2 separate regions of the Homo sapiens genome follow, and region 1 is linked to region 2. The links are contacts of gene promoters, found by promoter capture Hi-C in blood cells and fetal thymus (Javierre and others, 2016). All regions are on one chromosome and are shown on one strand. The core of a region is centred on a gene start or on the middle of the fragment in contact, and the rest is flanking DNA. Distances in the headings are between cores, read along the strand shown. Region 1 has its middle 770 kb from the start of LINC01821. Region 2 holds the start of TMEFF2 (transmembrane protein with EGF like and two follistatin like domains 2).

Region 1 (5,058 bases), core at 2,518-5,017, 1.4 Mb before region 2:
ATCCCACTTGTATCTTTTTACTTATGTTGCTTGTGCTTTTGGTGTCATATTCATGAAATCATAGCCAAAGCCAAGGCCAAGGTCTTCCCCTATGTTTTATTTTAGGAGTTTTATGGTTTCAGATCTGATATTTAAATATGTAGTCTGTTCTGAGTTTATTTTTGTGTGTGGTTTAAAATAAAGGTTCAAATGTATTTTTCACTTCTTTGTCTATTTCCAGTTTTCCCACCATGATTTTTTGAAAAGACTATTCTTTCCCCATTGTGTATTCTTCGCACCCGTGTCAAAAATCAGTTGACGGACTATGTGTGGATTTATTTCTAGATTCTCTATTTTGTTCCATTGATCTATATGTCTGATTTTATGCCATTTGTAATATATTCCGCAATTAGAAACTAAGATGCCTCCAGGATTTTTCTTGCTCAAAATTCCTTTGGCTCTCTAGCAACGTTTGTGTTTCCATATAAACTTTAAGACACATGTATATGTATACATATTTTTTTAATATATTAAATTAAAATATCAAATATACAAATACATTTAATATCATATATTCAATAATAAATATGTATATATTTCATATATATATATATCTGTGGGAAAATGTCATTGGTATTTTGATAGGGATTGCAATGAATCTGTAGATTGCTTTCGGTATTAAAGGCACTGTCACAATTTTAATTTTTCTTTTTTCTTTTTATTTTCTCTTTTCTTTCTTTCTTTTTTTTTTTTTTTTGAGACGGAGTTTCTTTCTTGTTGCCCAGGCTGGAGTGCAATGGCGCAATCTCGGCTCACCGCAACCTCTGCCTTACAGGTTCAAGCAATTCTCCTGCCTCAGCCTCCCGAGTAGCTGAGATTACAGGCATCCACCACTACGCCCGGCTAATTTTGTATTTTTAGTAGAGACGGGGTTTCTCCATGTTGAGGCTAGTCTCAAACTCCTGACCTCAGGTGATCCACCCGCCTCAGCCTCCCAAAGTGCTGGGATTACAGGCGTGAGCCACCGCGCCCGGCCCCCACAATTTTAATTTTTCTAACCAATGAACACAAGATATCTTTTCATTTACATGTGTCTGCTTTAAACTCTTTCTTTGTTTTATGGTATTCAGTGTACAAGCCTTTCTCCCCATTGGTTAACTTTATTCCTGAGTATTTTCTTCTTTTTGATGCTATTGTAAATGGGATTATTGTCTTGATTTCTTTTCCAGACAGTTTCTTGTTAGTGTATAGAAATACAACTGATTGTGTAGCCTACATTTTACTAAATTCATTAGTTTTAACAATGTGAGGTGGCACTTTAGGGTTTTCTACATGTAATATTATGTCATTTATGAATATAGATAATTTTACATCTCCCTTTGTAATTTGAATGCCTTTTATTTCTTTTTCTTGCCTAATTTCTTTGGCTAGGACTTTTAGTGCCATGTTAAATAGAAGTAGCAAGCATAAACAACCTTGCCTAATTCCAGGTCTTACAGAAAAAGTTTTTAATTTTTCACCATTGCCTATAATGTGAACTGTGGGCATTTCATATATGACCTTTATTGTGTTGTAAGTTTTTTCTATACCTAATTTATTGAAAGTTTTTAATCACAACATTGTCTTAAATTTTTTCTAACATTTTTTCTCTCTGTTGAGACGATTGTGTGATTTTAATCCTTCTTTCTGTTAATGTAGTGTAGTTATTAATTGATTTGTGTATATTAAACAGCCCTTGCGTTGGAGGGGTAAATCCTACTTGGCCATGATGTATGGTCTTTTTATTGTGCTATTGGATTCAGTTTGCTAATATTTTGTTGAGGATTTTTGCATCTATATTCATCAGGAGTATTTGCCTGTACTTTTATTTTGTTGTGTCGTCTTTGCTTTGTGTTGTTATTAGGGTGATGCTTGCCTAATAAAATGAGTTTGGATATATTCCATCTTCTTCTATTTGAGGGAAGAGTATACAAAGGTTTGGCATTAATTATACTTTCAGTATTTTTTAGAATTCACCTGTGAAGTCATCTTGCCCTGGGCTATTCTTTTTTGAGAGGTTTTGAATTACTGACTTTTTTTTTTATTATTATTCGTCTGTTCAGGCTTTCTATTTCTTCTTGATTCACGCTTGACAGGTTTTATGGTTCTAGGAATTTGTTCATTTATTCTAGGTTGTCCCATTTGCTAATAAGTAATTTTCATGGTAGTTTCTTATCTTTTTATTCCTGTGGCATCTTTATTATGACTACTCTTATGTTTCTGCTTTTATTTCAGCCTTCTCTCTTTTTTTTTCTCCCACTGGTTAAGGGGTTTTCAATCACATCTTTCAGAGAACCAACTCTTTGTTTTACTGGGGTTTTTTCCTATTGTTTTTGTATTCTCCATTTTGTTTATTTCTGTTCTGGTCTTTATTATTTCCTTCCTTTTGTTAATTTTGCTTGTAACTTGTTCTTTTTTTAGTTTCTTATAGTTGTTTATTTCAGATCTTTCTTAAATGTAGACATTTATTACTATAAACTTCCCTCTTAGTACTGTTTTTGCTGAAGCTCTTCTGTGCTTTTATAAAAGGAAGAAACACCCTCAATATATCAAGAGGTGAAAAAATGTACTACTTCTGCTGGCAAGGAAGTTTTAGTGGGATTAAGTTCTCATTACTTAGAGTCACCCAAATTCTCTCAAGGTTTCCACATTCTTCTAAAGAAAGTTATATATTTCTCTTGGCAAGGATGTAAATTTTAAACCCAATTTTCATTAATCAGAGCTGCTGCAATATATATATATGGCACTTAAAAAAATAAAAGAAGCTTCTTGATTCTCTGACAAAGCCTTGCATTGGTCTTTTCAAATCTTTAAATTTTCATTTTATCATCTTTCCTAATTAGAAGGAATCAGCCCTTTCCATAGTCTTGAATTTCCTATGGCCCTTAAACTGTCAAATAATAGTATCCTGTATGTCTAGAGAAGGTTTACAACTTTCCACCCATCTTCTTTGGCGACATAAAAAAAAAAAAAAATCTTTACCAAATCTTCTCAACTTCTAACTAGAATTGCACAGTCCTCAAGCCCATTCAAGTCAGAAACCATCACTTCTTTATTTGTATCGTACTAGGCCTCTAATGTCTTCATTGCTCCCTGCTATCTTAGCTGGACAACATAGAATACATTCTTGCTAGTTTAAGAAAATAATAATTTACTAAAATATATAGACAAGAGAATAAGACTTGGATTATGTGTGGCAGAAAATGGCCAGAAGAAACACTGGTGCCATTGTTATAAAACTTGTTTTGCAACCACCTGGAAGTAGTCACCTCTGATAAGTCATTATGGTATATAAGTCATTATTAACTTTATTTCACTGACAGCTAAATGAATGGAAATTTTTTTCTTATTTCAGGACACAGAGATCCATTTAAAACATTCATTTTGAAATATAATGTACTGTATAATTCTGTATAAAATATCTATCAGAGGTTTCAGAAGAGAAAGAGCCAAAAGACCAAAACTTCTTCACCAACCCGTTTGATCATATTTCTTTCTTCTGCCTGCAAGTTTTATGTGAGTACATCTACCTGAAGAATCTTAGCTTCAAAGGAGTTGAGAAAGTGTTATTTTGTTTATTTGTTTGTTTCTAATTTTATAGCCTCTTGAATGTATAAAAGAAAACTAGGAGGTTAGAATGAAGACTTAAAGAATATTAAATATCCCCAGGTTTCTCACTTTAGATACGGCTGTGACTTATAAGCCTCCTTGTATGACTTGAATGCAAATAATCTGTCTTGGGGATAAAATATATGATGAGGAAGTATATGATTAATGACCTAACATTTCAGTTTATCAGATAAAGCACTTTTCCCCTCAGTTTGCCTCCAGATAGTATTTGGTATTCATTTTCTAACACAGTTGGAACTAAATTATACCAAAATTCAAAAATGTACAAATCTAAAATAGTATGAAAAATGTATGATCAATTGTGCAGCCCAAGAAAACTCTTGAAAAGATAAACTAATTCTGAAATGAATGATGCATTTTATACATAATTATACAGTGCATTTTATTTCAAAATAAATGTTTAAAACAGTTCCCTATGTCCTAAAATAAGAAAAAAAATCACCCATTCATTCAGCTGTCAGCAAAATAGAGTTAATAATGACATATATCAGAATTACATACATTGTTTAGGGCAATGATTTCCTGGCAGGAAATTAATAATGAGCTAATTTAAGAAAGTATTGCAAATGATTTAAAGACTTTGTCAGCATTGTCTATGGTACTCTTGTCATTTTGCTTATGATTTTTTGTATTTTTGTACTAGGACACCAAATGGGATTGTTACTGACTCAATATCAGATGTCTCATGTTATGATCCCCAACATCTATGAGTTGTCAGATGACTTGGGAAGGGATGAGAAAAGAGGTGGTGAAAAATTAATTGTCAATTATTTAGGTTATCTCCTTTGAGTGTATAAAGGCAGTAGTTTTGAAAAATCAGATGGGGAGGATTTTTTTTGGAAGACATTGCTAGTACAGTGTGAGTCTGACCCTTTTCATAGCAGTCATAATAGAGGATGATGCTTCAATCTTGTTTTTAACACAGTAAGAAAAGGTTCAGAAGATCATAAAGGGATCTTGGACTGTTTTCTTTGACATCTTAGGGGAAAGGGAGCACAATGGCTGGTTCCATACTCATGGCTGAGAAGCCTGAAAGCCTGCGAAGATGATTGGCTAACCATCTGATTGACTGAGGGGAGATGGCTATCTAGGAAACAAGCTTCACTTCAGAGATTTCTGGGCAAATAATGTCAGAATATATTCCCTTTAGATCTATGTAGCAAAGAGAATTTACCTGGAGCTATTTTAAAGGGACTTTGTCTAAGACAGTTAGCTGATGAAGCACCAGAAGAGAACATCTGTGTTGGGTCTATTGTTGCAAACCAGAAATTGAGAACAAAGAGCTAAGACCCCAGATGGAGAATAGAAGTGTTAAGAAATCTACAGACGAATTATCTATGTTAAGGGAGAGTCTCCAAAAACCTCACGAATTCAACCCTAGTAGAATTGAGCTCCAAACATCTTCATTGT
Region 2 (5,371 bases), core at 992-3,491:
AAGGACTTTGCCTTTAGTTTCAAGCATGACTTATTTTCATAAGCCTGATTAGTTACCACACCAGCCTTGCTATGGAAAATGACATGTTCTCATTCTCTGCTGTAGAGTTGTTAAATCTTGATCTATATTTATGTTGCCTTCTCTGCTGAAAGCCTGTAGCGAAAGAAATTTCTAATTCCTTGTTTTGCAATATTAGTTGGCAGCTCTATCTAATGGGTATTCTGTTTCCTTAAAGAATTTAGCTGCTCTGTCTAGAAGCCGATTTTCTGATGCCTCCAACGTCTGGTCTAATTGATCTGTTTTAATGGAGTCTTCGTCGGTGAGGAGCGAGATGCCACCGACTAGAATGCTGGGATCTGCTGCTTAATTGCCAGGAGTGAGAGACACTGAGATTCAGAAATCTTTGGAGGTGGGAGGGGAGAGGGACAGTCTCGGACGGAGGCGGAGATGTAAGATAAAGGGATGGATTTCACACAGGAAAAAAAAAAAGATTTCGTTGAGGCACTGAGGTGCTGCACGATCACATCTCTCAAAGGAGAAGTTAAAAAGCAAGGAAGTGGGAGGAGGTTGGAGGTTAAAGTACTTAAAAGGATTACTCGGGTACAATTTGTTTTTCTGCTGGTGTCTGCAAAGGATAGATAGTCCCGTTTTCAAAGTATATGAATGCCTCTTTTAAGTGATTGGGAATGGACACTAATTGCCTGTTAAATGTTATCAAATGCTCTCCTAAATTCAGGGGACACAGAAAGAGGGGCACAAAAGGAGAATTTAAATAGAAAAAGGGAGGATCCGGAGGCTTTTGAAAGCGGGGGGAGAAGAAGGAGGAGGGATAACAGAGAGGAATAGAGAAGGAGAGCGGAGAGAAGATAAACAAAAACAAAAACAGGAATCACTGAATAATCACACACCAAAAAGAAAGCTCTTCCCTATGGGGCATCCAAAACACTGAGACTGCAATAGTGACCCCGGTCATGGAAGAAAGATGTTCCTCTCCACCCTTGTCCCCGAAAGCTCTTGGTCCCGTTACTGGCGACTAAAATTCCATTAGGCTAAAGAGTGTGTCTAACTGCCTGAAGAATGCAGCAGACGGAAGGCGGGTCCCGCTATGCCGTTTGCCCTTCCCGCTGGAGAGAATGAAAGAAACGCGCAGAGCCAGAGACTCCTGCCGAGTTAGACCTTCTCTCGTCGCCCCAGGTCACCGGCCATCCGGCAAAGACCCGAGTAAGGAACGCAGGGTCACTGCCTGGGCCAACAAATGGAGCCCGCTCTCCCCTTCCCGGACGCCGCTGCCCGGCCGATGCTCCCGGCAACCCACCCGCGGCGTATGCAGAGGAGCCTTTCTCTTTCTCTCAGACCACTTGTCCCGACCAATCTGACCTTCCAAACACATCTGACCGCACCTCCCAGGTGGACACACTAATAGGCTACGGGCTGGAGAGGAGCGGGTGATGAGGAGAGGGATTCAAACCTGCGAACGCTTGGGCTGGGTCGGAGCTGCGGGGGGCCTGGGAGGAGAGAGGGGAGAAGAGAGAAGGAAGGAGAGCGCCTGCCGGGATGGCTGAGCTGCCTCGGCGAGCAGCCTTGGGGTTGCACGCTCTTGTGGGAGATGCTGCTGTTGCTTCCAGGTCGGCAAGAGCGGTTCTAACACCATCGCCTCTCACCCTCTTTCCTGTAAATCCCTAGAGAAACGTCCCTGGCCTCTCCGCCGCGACATTCCCAGCCTGCATCCCCCTACAGCCTAGGCGGCGCGCTCCCGCACGCTGGAGCGCCGGTCGCCAGCAGGACGCCCTCTCCCGCGCCGACTCGCCCCTCTCTGCCCTGCTGCTGCTGCTCCTCTGACACCTCCGCCCCCACCATCTCCAGCTCGGAGAGACGCCACCCAGCCGCGGCCCGCACTCGCGGCCCGGGGTCACGCGCGGAAGAGGGGCGCTAGTCCGGACCCCGCCTTCGGTAGGGGGCGTCCTGGAGCGGAGAGTGAGGCGAATGGTATATGAGTGTGCGGGTAGCCCACCCTGAAGCCCGAGCTTCTCATTTGAGCCATCCCCGCCTAGCCCCACTCGGGCCAGCGCCTGGCGAGCGAGCCCATCTGTGGCTTCCGCGGCCGCCTCCTCCTTGCATCCTTGCACCTCCTCGTCGACCCCTCCCTCCCGGGACCTGCATCCTGCTCCACCAATCAGAGCCCGACTGCCTCTTCCCACGTGACCCCGGGCGGGCTGAGGACCTGCTGCTTCCCAAACGCCAGAGGGATGCGGGCGGCAGAGCTCGAGAGGCGGCTGCCGGGCTGCGGGGCGCCTTGACTCTCCCTCCACCCTGCCTCCTCGGGCTCCACTCGTCTGCCCCTGGACTCCCGTCTCCTCCTGTCCTCCGGCTTCCCAGAGCTCCCTCCTTATGGCAGCAGCTTCCCGCGTCTCCGGCGCAGCTTCTCAGCGGACGACCCTCTCGCTCCGGGGCTGAGCCCAGTCCCTGGATGTTGCTGAAACTCTCGAGATCATGCGCGGGTTTGGCTGCTGCTTCCCCGCCGGGTGCCACTGCCACCGCCGCCGCCTCTGCTGCCGCCGTCCGCGGGATGCTCAGTAGCCCGCTGCCCGGCCCCCGCGATCCTGTGTTCCTCGGAAGCCGTTTGCTGCTGCAGAGTTGCACGAACTAGTCATGGTGCTGTGGGAGTCCCCGCGGCAGTGCAGCAGCTGGACACTTTGCGAGGGCTTTTGCTGGCTGCTGCTGCTGCCCGTCATGCTACTCATCGTAGCCCGCCCGGTGAAGCTCGCTGCTTTCCCTACCTCCTTAAGTGACTGCCAAACGCCCACCGGCTGGAATTGCTCTGGTAAGTCCAGAACCCCCGTCCCCGACCCTTTAACTCCGCAGAAGAACACGCGTATCCAGCACAGACCAGCCTACCCTAGCGCGCCTCCTCAGCCCCTCACCTCCTACTGCCCTAGACCCCTAATACCACCCACCTCTATCCAGAGAAACAAGGGGAACTGTTGCAGGCCCGGGGGTGAGGGGTGGTTCTGGGATGGGCAGAAAGTGCAGGTGTAGCAGGAAACCTTTGCATGCTTGCGCTTACATTGGAGCTGCGAGGATTTTGAGAAATATTAAACGGGATGGTTTTCTGGGTTCACTGTTTTGAAAGAGCACCAATCCTAGGGGAAACACTGAAACAGAAGCTTTGTCATCATTAAAGAAAAAAGTCTTACTAGGATGAGGAAGAAATAACTTTATGAGAAAGAATGAGCGAGAAAGCAATAAATCAAATGGTGACTGCAGGGGAATCGCTGATTCCTGGCAAAGGTGCCATGAGGTCGCACTGGTCTCCCGTTGAAGACCAGGTCACACAGATTCTAGAGGAGCTGGGTTTCAATAGAATTTCTCTCTCTCTCTCTCTCTCTCTCTCTCTCTCTCTCTCTCTCTCTCTATCTATCTATCTCTCTCTCTCTCTCATTCCCTTCTCTCCTAGGCGGCAAAAGACATTGGTTTTGCAGTCCAGATATGCCCCTCTCTTTGCTTCCCTAAGCTTCAAGGTAGTACAGGGGAGTTGAGAAAAAGAACACTTTGCGGGTCTCCCAGGCCGGAGTGGGCATGACTGAGGCTGGTCAGGCTCCATGTAGGCGAGCCGAGGGCGGAACCGACTTCAGTGGGCGCTGACTCCTCCATTTCTGGACAGGCTTCTGTGGAGTGGGTCAGGCACTCTTCTTGCTCGCTCGGGTTCCTTCAGATTCTGACGGCGAACGCTTGGCAGGCTTCGCTCTGCTGAAGCTTCCTAATTAAATAGGGCCAGAGGATGGGAGTTGCTGCACTCCTAGCTGGCATAGCATTTCGGTTTGACAGCCTGTAGTATACTGGGCAGAATTGTGGTGTAATTTCCTTGGCATTTTAAACTCCGTTAACATGCCTGGGTATTGTCCCCTAGGTGTGGTCTGTTCTAGTTTTAGCAAGTGTGTATGTAATTTTTCATCTTCTGTGAATATAATTTTGCTGTAGTTAAATCTGGCTCTGAATAAAGTGTCTTTCAAAGATGTATATAAGCTGAAGTGTATGTAACTTTAGAGAGGAGGGAATGACCAACTGTAACTCAGGGTGAAAGCCTGTATAGTTCCTAGTTATTACTGATGTAAATGCCAAAAGGAAAATTATTATGCATCATTCTAATTTATCCTTTACAAAGACAAGTTGAGATATGCAACCCTATTAGATTTGGGTCAATAGATTGTTCTCTTTTTTGGCAGTTTCTAAATTTGGCATTTTAATAAAACTCAACATGTTTCTATAACTTCTTGATTCATGCGTACATGTGTGTTGTTTTTGAAAGAATAAGTTTCACTTTGCTATTGCCTAATCACTTTTTAGATGCTTTATTATGGTAATAATTATGAGCCTGCAAAAACAATTTTTGGAAATGTTGATGGCTTTGTAGTCCAACACAGACTGGTTTGCTTCATTCCTAGCCCTTGCATTGTTTTAGGAAATAACTAACTTAAATGTGAAGTTGACATTTGCAATCAAGAAATTACATATTTACCAGATATTTTAAAGGGGACTGCATAAACTAAAGAGAATAAACTGGTTTTGCAGATAGGTTGTCAAGAACTTGGCACCCCGCTTCCACCCCTGTTAACTTAGAGGTGATCAATCTTCATTTGAGCCAAACAGACCATCACAGAAAACACTGTGCCTGTTTATCTTTATTATTGAGGCTTTGTTTCCTCTTTGTCTGGATACATTTCAAATAAGGGGTTGTTTCAGTCGTTGAAGCAAAAGAACAATTAAAGATGGGGAAATGGTAAAAGGGTATTCAGAGATCATCACTAGCTCTTTTCCAAAATGTGGAGTTTTGTGGTCATAAATATTGTCCACCTAATGAGCAAAAAATAAAAATAAAAAAAAAACAGGAAGCAAATGTTAAGCTTTCATTCACCACTGTCAGTATTAACGCAAGCTTTAAAAAATAGCACTATCAGAAAAGGATACTAAAGGAGAATTGACTAGAAAAGAATTGTGGAAAATGGAAACGAATATTGATCACTTAACTAGATTTTGAGGTTATCAGTAGACAGTGACCTTGCAGTACAGCTATAGTTGTTGGATTTAAAATTTAGGACAAGTATTTTAAAGCTTCAAAGTAGTGCTTTTTTTTGTTAAAAATCTGTAAGATGTTTTAATGACTGGAGTGTTCTCTTTGAATTTGAGGTTATGATGACAGAGAAAATGATCTCTTCCTCTGTGACACCAACACCTGTAAATTTGATGGGGAATGTTTAAGAATTGGAGACACTGTGACTTGCGTCTGTCAGTTCAAGGTAAGAAGTCTTATATTTGCATCTTCTAATTCATTAATGAGACTGCAAAGCAGGAATCTTCCTTTACAGCCTATCAC

The links. The method cuts DNA at HindIII sites, captures the fragments that hold promoters and counts their contacts. A CHiCAGO score of 5 or more calls a contact.
Region 1: a contact is called between a fragment that was not itself captured here and the fragment with the promoter of TMEFF2 in region 2, in 1 of 17 cell types (M2 macrophages). The highest score is 5.4, in M2 macrophages.

The regions. Positions count from the first base shown.
Region 1 is chr2:193,574,928-193,579,985 of GRCh38, reverse strand. No RefSeq gene overlaps it. Among named protein-coding and RNA genes, the nearest start is that of LINC01821, 770 kb to the left of the region's middle. The HindIII fragment of the contact is 1,964 bases long and covers 2,786-4,749 here.
Region 2 is chr2:192,191,803-192,197,173 of GRCh38, reverse strand. It overlaps TMEFF2 (transmembrane protein with EGF like and two follistatin like domains 2), which reads left to right and starts at 2,241. Exons shown (of 10, transcript NM_016192.4): 1 at 2,241-2,821; 2 at 5,185-5,294. The coding sequence starts at 2,650. RefSeq lists an enhancer at 1,720-2,295. The HindIII fragment of the contact is 4,792 bases long and covers 1-3,166 here.